Linked DNA regions of Homo sapiens: all the other regions are linked to region 2. Evidence: promoter capture Hi-C in 16 types of primary human blood cells and fetal thymus (Javierre and others, 2016). All regions are on one chromosome and are shown on one strand. The core of a region is centred on a gene start or on the middle of the fragment in contact, and the rest is flanking DNA. Distances in the headings are between cores, read along the strand shown.

Region 1 (3,070 bases), core at 237-2,736, 740 kb after region 2:
CCCACAACTTACAGATGAACCCAAGTGAACATTCCTCATTACCATGCTAAAGTCTCCACCCCCAGAGGAGCTATAGCTTCATTACCTTAACATGCAACCTATGTGCTGGCATGATAGCTCAGCGCATCTGCACAACTGAGACCCCACTACACGCAATGCTGCACCCTCTCCCTTCTCTATTACCCCATAAAACTCGCCTATCACTTTCCCTTGGGAAGACACTGCTTTGGAGAATACTCTCAATGTTCTCCTTTACTTGTATCAAGTAATAAAACTCCTATTGATCCAAACCTACATCCCTATAAAGAGTCTTTGTTACTTGCCTGATGAAGAACCCCAGTTTTGTTTTGTTTTGTTTTGTTCTTTGGGATGGAGTCTCGCTCTGTTGCCCAGGCTGGAGTGCAGTGACGCGATCTCAGCTCACTGCAAGCTCCGCCTCCCGGGTTCACGCCATTCTCCTGCCTCAGCCTCCTGAATAGCTAGGACTACAGGCGCCCACCACCACACCTGGCTAATTTTTTGTATTTTTAGTAGAGATGGGGTTTCACCGTGTTAGCCAGGATAGTCTCGATCTCCTGACCAAGTGATCCACCCACCTCAACCTCCCAAAGTGCTGGGATTACAGGTGTGACCCACCTCACCTGGCCAAGAACCCCAGTTTTTTAGAACAACATTAGCATCTGTGCTCTAGAAAACATCCCACAATGGGCAAACCAAGGACAGATTCTCCACTAAAAGAGAACAAAGCTCATTTCCCCAGGAGAGATTAAGTTGGAGCTGGACACAAATAGCCCTGGGCCTTACAGCCATCTTCTGACATTAGTCACGGGAGTGAGGTCACCCCAGAACACAGAGGTTCAGAGCTCTAGAGCTCCACTGTCCATTGCAGTATCCATGGGCACATGTGGCCATTGGGCACTTGAAATGTGGTCAGTCTGCATTAAGTTGGGATCATTAGTATAAATTACACCCCAGTATTTTAAAAAACTTTAGTATGGAAAAAGAAAATAACGATGTTTTATATTAATAGCACACTGAAGTAACAGTAATTTAGTCATATTGGGTTAAATAAAACATTATGAAAATTGTCAGCCGGGTACAGTGGCTCACGCCTGTAATCCCAAAACTTTGGGATGCCGAGGCAGGCGGATCACTTGAGGTCAGGAGTTTGAGAACAGCTTGGCCAACATGGCAAAACCTCCTCTTTATTGAAAATACAAAAATTAGCTGGGCGTGGTGGGGGGCACCTGTAATCCCAGCTACTCTGGAGGCTGAGACACGAGAATCACTTGAACCCGTGGTAGGGGGTTGGAGGTTGCAGTGAGATGAGATTGTGCCACTGCACTCCAGCAGCCTAGGCAATAAAGCGAGACTCCGTCTCAAAAAAAAAAAAAGAAAAAAAAAAAAGAAAATTGTCATGGGTGTCTTTTATTTTTTGGTTGGAGTCAGTGGTGTGATCATATCTCACTGCAGCCTCAGCCTCCTGGGCTGAATCCATCCTCCCACCTCAGTCAGCTAATTTTTTTTTTTTTTTGAGACGGAGTCTCAAAATTTTTTAATTTTTTGTAGAGACAGGTTTTGCTATGTTTTCCAGGCTGCTCTCAAAATTCTGGCCTCAAGTAATCTGCCCTCCTCGGCCTCCCAAAGTGCTAGGATCACAGGCGTGAGCCACCGTGCCTGGCCTCATATTTATTTATTTATTGAGACAGAGTCTCACTCTGTCACCCAGGCTGGAGTGCAGTGGCACGATCTCGGCTCACTGTAGCCTCTGCCTCCTAGGTTCAAGCGATTCTCCTGCCTCAGCCTCCCAAATAGCTGGGACTACAGATGTACGCCACCACCCCCGGCTAATTTTTATATTTTTTTAGTAGAGATGGGCTTTCACCATGTTGGCCAGGTGGGTCTTGAACTCCTGAGCTCAGGCAATCTGCCCACCTCCACCTCCCAAAGTGCTAGGATTACGGGCTTGAGCCACCATGCCCAGCTATTTATTTATTTTTGTGGAGACAGGGTCTCACCATTTTGCCTAGGCTCATCTTAAACGGCTCAAGCAATCTCCCACCTTGGCATCCCAAAGTGCTGAGATTACAGGCATGTCCCACCACGCCGGCCTCTCTTTACCTTTCTAATGTGGCTAGCAGAAAGTTTAAAATTACATGTGTGGGTCAGATGACATTTCTCTTGGGCAGCACTTCCCTGGACAGGCAGTGTATCCCAGAAAGGCAGACCTGGGCTAGCCACAGAATCTTCAACCCCATCCCCAAGACTTGAGGCTGACAAGAAGTAAAACAAAGTGAAGGTGGAGGAGATGAAAAATGGGATGCAAAGAAACAGATGTGATATAGTCCATCTTTCTCTCTCTTTTTTAAAATATAGACTGGGTCTCACTGTGTTGCCCAGGCTGGTCTCAAACTCCTGACCTCAAGCAATCCCCCCAACCTCAGCCTCCCAAAGCACTGGGATTACAGGTGCAAACCACCATGCCTGGCCATCTTTTTTTATTTTTTAATTGTGATAAGAACACTAGGGGCCAGGTGCAATGGCTCACACCTGTAATTTCAGCACTTTGGGAGGCCAAGGCAGAAGATCGCATGAGGCCAGGAGCTCAAGACTAGCCTGGGCAGCATAGCAAGACCCCCATCTCTTAAAAAAAAAAAAAAAGAAAAAAGAACACAACATGAGATCTCCTCTCTTAACAGATTTTTTAAGTGTCCAATACATTCCTGCTGACTATAGGTAAATGTCATACGGCAGATTTCTAGAGCTTATTCATCTTGCTTGACTGGAGCTTTCTGCCCATTGATTAGTAACTCCCCATTTTGCCCTCCCCCAGTCCCTAGCAACCACCATTCCACTCTTTGATTCCGTGCATTTGACTATTTTAAATCCCTCCTATAAGTGGAATCATGCTCGGTACTCTGACGCCCTTTCCCGCTCACTCCTTCCCCACCCCGTCCTCTAGGCAACGCAACATGAGTCACCTACTCATTGCCTTAGGGAGAAAGTTGTCACCATAAAACCAGAGAACAATAGAAACAAATGCTTAGTTTTTAAAATCAAAAGTCAAAGA
Region 2 (2,836 bases), core at 251-2,750:
GTCTCACTCTGTCACCCAGGCTGGAGTGTAATGGCGTGATCATGGCTCCCTGCAGCCTCAACCTCCTGGGCTCAAGTGATCCTCCTGTCTCAGACTCCCAAGTAGCTGAGACTACAGGCATGTGCCACGACACCTGGTTAATTTTTTTTTTTTGTATTCTTTTGTAGAGATGGGGTCTCACTATGTTGCCTAGGCTGGTCTTGAGCTCCTGGGCTCAAGCAATCCTCCTGCCTCTACCTCCCAAAGTGCTGGGATTACAGGCATGAGCCTCCACGTCTGCCCTGAAATTTCAATATCACAGCTATACTGTATATCTATTTATGTGCTGTATGTATGCTGTGCTTTGTACATAAAAAATATGTTTTATTTTTTGCCCCGTTGGGGTGAGATAGAGACCGCACTGAGAATGCACGCTTTACATAATTAGTTCACAACTTGCCCCCGGCAGCCTCCACCACGTAAAATTAGAAGAAAGCAGCCCAGCAGGGCCTACAAGGAATGTGTGAACGGATGCACGTAAAGTGCTTAGCAAAGCGTGGTAAACAAGAGCCCTTGTTGTCATTCTTGCTTTAAGCCTAGTCCCAGTGATGTCTGTAACCCTCTCTTGGGCCAAGGAGTCCCATGGCTCTGGAGGGCTGTTCAGAGGACTAAGTCATTCCCAGTCTGGAGCTCTACGGGATCAGTAGGTACCTAAGGGAGTGAATTGGGCTTGGAGGGACTGTGGCCAGAAGACAGCTCTGGGCCTGGTGGTGATAGAACTTCTGATTTCTCAGGAAAAGCCAAGAATGTGGATTTTGGGTTAAATCTCCTGAATTTTAAGCATTGGCTCAATTAAACAACAATAAGGCAATGTGAACCGAACAAAAGGGATGAAACCAAGATTTACTGACTTTCCCAGAGTCACGGGCACGGCTGGGATTCCAACAAGGACTCCCAAACCAGTGCTCTTTCCACTTAACCTAACGCACACCCTTCATCTCGCCGCCCCTCCCCACTTCCCCGTCTTTGGGAGTTCTTCGATGCCTCTTCCCCCCTCCCCCCAGGATTCCCTCCCCATAGGCCACCCGCCTTCCAGCAGGGCGTGGTCTCTACAGAGGAGGTCAGGTCTCCCAGGCTTCCTCAGCGTCGACGCCGGGGAGCGCCCTGGGGTTGGGAGCGCCCGGGGCCCGCGAAGGAGGAGGTGGCTCAGGTGTCAGGGCGCACCGTGGGAACCGGCCCCGGGGGAGGCGTGGAAACGCGGGGCCTGGGACTCGACCAGCCTCTCCCGTGCGGATCGCAAAATCTCGGAGCTGAAACAGCCCGTTGTTCGCAGCCTCCCTCTGACCCGCCACCCTGCACATTGTTTTCCATTCGCCCGGGTCGCGGGTGGGAGGAGAGGCACGCCGGGGTTCTGGAGCTTGGCCGCGCGCCAGGCTTGTGGCCTTCGTCCCCCTGGGGCCACTGGGGCGGCCACGCCTCTCCGGCGGGAGGAGAGAACGCGTGGGTCCGGGTGGCTGCTCCGGCCCTTCCGCCTCCAGCTCGGCCATGGGGTCGCGCAGCTCCCACGCCGCGGTCATTCCCGACGGGGACAGTATTCGGCGAGAGACCGGCTGTGAGTGCGCCCGCGTCGGCGGCTGCGGAGGGGACGGGGCGAACCCAGGCGTCTGGGGCTAGGGAAGGGGTTGGGTTGAAGGATGGACGAACTTACAAGTCTGGGGTCCGGGGCTCCCCGGAGCTGGAAGACCAAGGCCCCTGTGCCTGGGATCGCTGGGTTAGGGGCGGGTTAACCTAGGGGTCCCAGCCTCCAAGTCTGGGGAGGATCCGGGTTCACGGGGTCGGAGTCCAGAGGAATCCAGGCACCCAGGTGTCCTCCAGCCCGGCTCGAAGCTGAAGGCAGAGCTGACGGCGGTTGGAAGGGATGGCTTTGGTTCTTTGGTTTTCGGGAGGTTGCGAGCCGCCCGGGTCTTGAACCTGGATCTTCGCGGGGTCGTGTCACTCTCCCTCCGCCCCGGCCAGCTCAACCCCTGATTCCCCGGGATGATCGCCCCTTCCAGCCAGCCCCCGCTGTTCTGGCCCATCTTCCTGGCCTGTTGGGGCGGGTTTCTGGAGCTGGCCCTGCAGAGTCACACACCCCCACCCCACTCTCCTTCCCGCAGTCTCCCAAGCCAGCCTGCTCCGCCTGCACCACCGGTTCCGGGCACTGGACAGGAATAAGAAGGGCTACCTGAGGTGAGGGGGAGCCGGCCTCATAACTTCTGGCCTCTGTCTCTCTGACTCCATGTCCCTCTTTGACCCTCCGTCTGGCATCTCTGCCTTACCCTCTTTGAAATTTGGCTTTGCAGCCGCATGGATCTCCAGCAGATAGGGGCGCTCGCCGTGAACCCCCTGGGAGACCGAATTATAGAAAGCTTCTTCCCCGATGGGTGAGGCTTGCTGGGCGTGGGGAGGTGAAGGCGGGAAAACCGGTGTGTGAGTGGGTGGGAGGGGAGGTTAGAGACGGAGGCAAAGTGATGGCCAAGGTGACCACCACCTCTTTCCATTCTGTCCCGTCTCCCCAGGAGCCAGCGAGTGGATTTCCCAGGCTTTGTCAGGGTCTTGGCTCATTTTCGCCCTGTAGAAGATGAGGACACAGAAACCCAAGACCCCAAGAAACCTGAACCTCTCAACAGCAGAAGGAACAAACTTCACTGTGAGTTTGTGAGGACCTGCACAAGTGAGAATGCAGATGTACCCACACCAGGGACAGGCTCCAGGGATCTCCCACTCCCTTCCTGAGGGCATTGACAACCTCCCCCCTCCTCCAAGGTGGGGGGAAGGAAGGTGGCTGCTGGAAGAGAGCCAGGGAAGACCTACCTTC
Region 3 (3,126 bases), core at 510-3,009, 720 kb after region 2:
ATTCTGTCTCCGTCAAGTAGGTAACCACACATGCTACCATATAACTTAATTCCCGTAGCTGCTACATTTTCCACTCAAAGACAGGAATGGCGTTTTAGTAAAGGATTTTATGGTATTCATTTTTGTGCATCTAACACAGAACCTACATGCAGTAGATGCTTAATAAATAAATATATAATTTTTCATTATTTGAATTGTGATTTATTGTCTATGCTAGGCACCAGAACGAATGAATGAATGTTCATTTCCAAGACAAACAAGAATAATCTCCAACAACATACAAACTTAAGATCCTAATCAGGGTTCATCCACAGGAATAGAGCTAAATATCACTTGCTAAATGATAATGTGGTATTCAACTAGCTCCATGTATCCTTTCAATGGCTCCTGCAGCTCTTCAAGTCCAAGAATTAAAGCCCTATTTGTGATCACCAGCAAAGATGCAAAAGCCCCTTGAACACCCTGCACACACATCTCCTCTATTGTTTGTCACACATACAGATACCCAGTTTATTACGAGGTCTGAACTCAGTGAAGGTATAAACACGAAAGCAGTTTCATTTTTCTCCAACTACTCACTACCTTTAACTACACAGTTGACCCAGTTGACCCCTGAACAGCATGGATTTGAACTGCTTGGGTCCACTTCTACCTGGATTTTCTTCTGCCTCTGCCACCCTTGAGACAGTGAGACCAACCCCTCCTCTTCCTCCTCCTCTTCACCCTATTCAGTGTGAAGAGGATGAGGATGAAGTCATCTATGATGATCCGCTTCCACTTAATGAATAGTAAATATGGCCGGGCATAGTGGCTCACGCCTGTAATCTCAGCACGTTGGAAGGCTGACCACTGCATTCCAGCCTGGGTGACACAGCAAGACTCCATCTCAAAAAAAAAAGAATCCTAAATATATTTTCCTTATGATTTTCTTAATATTCTATTTTCTCTAGCTTGCTTTATTGTAAGAATATAGTATATAATACATATAACACAAAACATGTGTTAATTGACTATGTTATCAGTAAGACTTCCAGTCAACAGTAGGCTACTAATAGTTCAGTTTTTGGGCAGATGCCGTGGCTCATGCCTGTAATCCCAGCACTTTGGGAGGCCAAGGTGGGCAGATCACGTGAGGTCAGGAGTCCAAGACCAGCCTGGCCAGCATGGTGAAACCCCATCTCTACTGAAAATACAAAAATTAGCCAGGCATCTTTGTGCACACCTGTAATCCCAGCTACTCAGGAGGCTGAGGCTTGAGAATTGCTTGAACCTGGGAGGTGAAGGTTGCAGTGAGCTGAGATCACCCCACTGCACTCCAGCCTGGGAGACAGAGTGAGACTCCATCTCAAAAAAAAAAAAAGAAAAAAGACAAGAAAAATAGTTAAATGTTTGTGGAGTCAAAAGTTACATGTGGATTTTTGACAATGCCTCTAAGCCTTGCATTGTTCAAGGGTCAGCTGTACTCCCAAATATTCCTCTCTCTTAGAAACATAGTTTTTAGTCCCATTACGGTATTTAAAAGCCTAACACAAGCAACTCAGTAAGTTTAAAGCTTCAATATCACATGCAATTTCAAGATCTTCTCCTCATAGCTCAGTTTGACCACTGGTCAAAAGGACCTTTGTCTATTTCTCTGATGGTTGCAGAATCTAGCTGATGCATGCATACATGTGCACATATGTGTGCACATACACACATACTGGCACATACTTATACTAAGAAATAATCTGCTGCTTATCTGAAATTCAAATGTAACTGAGAGTCCTATATTTTATGTGGCAACCCTACTTCCCACTCCTTCTTCTGGGTTTCCCATTCTCCTCCGAGGTGTTGGGCTCCAGGAAGAAAGATGCAGAGCGAGGAAGTGTGAACATCTTCTACTTAACTGCTGCTGCTGTAATTCTCCTTCAGCTGTCATCCACCGTGGTTGCAGCCTGCCAAATCCGGCTTTCCTCAGGCACTTGTACAAGCTTTCAGGCGGCCCTGCAGGGTGGCACATTTTCTCTAAGACAACTAGTCACGTGCTCAATGCCCATGAGTTCAAGAGCCTCCTTTCCTCCCACCCAAAGCCCTTATCCCCAAGGAGGTGAGATTAATTTCTGATCAGGTGGGCCTTGTGCCAGCTATTATTTAGTTGTTATCTCTCAACTCCAAACCCAACCTTCTGTATTCTGCTTTGTGATACAAGAGTTGGAATTGGGAAAAGCATATTTCTGCTGTTCCAGCTGCTTCCTGTGAGGTTCTACCCATGGGGGTGTTAGAGGGGAACTGCAAGGCTGGAGGAAAAAGGAACTTGCTCTTTCTGTTCCTGTGAACACTCTCCTAGCAAGGCTTCCTTTCTCCTGCAATGGCAGTTCCTTCCCATAGCAGCATCTCAATCCAGTTTGCAGTTTTCCTAACACTGGCAGAACCAGTCTAATTGCACCCCTCAAAGACTCCAACCCCCGTCCCTCCTTAGAGATCTGAGTTTCAGTTTGCAGGGCACTTTTCTCCTATTATTCTAGTGATTTTTTGGTTTGTTTGTTTGTTTGTTTGAGACAGGGTCTCACTCTGTCTCCCAGGCTGGAGTGTAGTGGAGTGTAGTTACAGTGAGTCATACTCACTGTAACTGGGCTCTAGTGATCCTCCTACCTCAACCTCCCGAGTAGCTGGGACCACAGGTGAATGCCACTCTGCCTGGCCAATTTTATTATGTTTTGTAGAGACAGGGTCTCACTATGTTGCCCAGTCTAGTCTCAAACTCCTGGCTTCAAGCAATCCTCCCACCTTGGTCTCCTGAGTCTCTGGGATTACAGATATGAGCCACTGCACTTGGCTGATTCTAAGTGTTAATGCCAACCTTTTCTCATTGTTCCCCCAGACCTCTGAGTATAGCTGTTTCCTTCAGTTGCTTCTTCTGTGATACATTAATATTGTTGTTGGGTTGGTTTTGTTTTGTTGTTTTTTTTTCCTTTTTAGTTGCCTGGTTATCAACTTGATTCCTAGTTAACAATTCTCGGCCAGGCGTGGTGGCTCATGCCTGTAATCCCAGCACTTTGGGAGCCCGAGGACAGGGGATCACTTGAGGTCAGCAGTTTGAGACCAGCCTGGTCAACATGGTGAAACCCTGCCTCTACTAAAATACAA

What was found. Contacts are between HindIII fragments. The CHiCAGO score rates a contact against its expected background, and 5 or more counts as called.
Region 1: a contact is called between a fragment that was not itself captured here and the fragment with the promoter of CHP2 in region 2, in 2 of 17 cell types (M2 macrophages and naive CD8 T cells). The highest score is 5.9, in M2 macrophages.
Region 3: a contact is called between a fragment that was not itself captured here and the fragment with the promoter of CHP2 in region 2, in 1 of 17 cell types (M0 macrophages). The highest score is 5.1, in M0 macrophages.

What each region holds. Positions count from the first base shown.
Region 1 is chr16:24,491,105-24,494,174 of GRCh38, forward strand. The region is part of intron 1 of LOC105371143 (a long non-coding RNA gene); the gene reads right to left. Among named protein-coding and RNA genes, the nearest start is that of RBBP6, 47 kb to the right of the region's middle. The HindIII fragment of the contact is 5,778 bases long and covers 1-3,070 here.
Region 2 is chr16:23,753,526-23,756,361 of GRCh38, forward strand. CHP2 (calcineurin like EF-hand protein 2) reads left to right here and starts at 1,501. Exons shown (of 7, transcript NM_022097.4): 1 at 1,501-1,591; 2 at 2,136-2,208; 3 at 2,322-2,402; 4 at 2,538-2,668. The coding sequence starts at 1,525. RefSeq lists an enhancer at 1,389-2,034. The HindIII fragment of the contact is 3,392 bases long and covers 1-2,385 here.
Region 3 is chr16:24,469,858-24,472,983 of GRCh38, forward strand. LOC105371143 (a long non-coding RNA gene) reads right to left here. Exons shown (of 4, transcript XR_950928.3): 3 at 1,887-1,983. Among named protein-coding and RNA genes, the nearest start is that of RBBP6, 68 kb to the right of the region's middle. The HindIII fragment of the contact is 418 bases long and covers 1,551-1,968 here.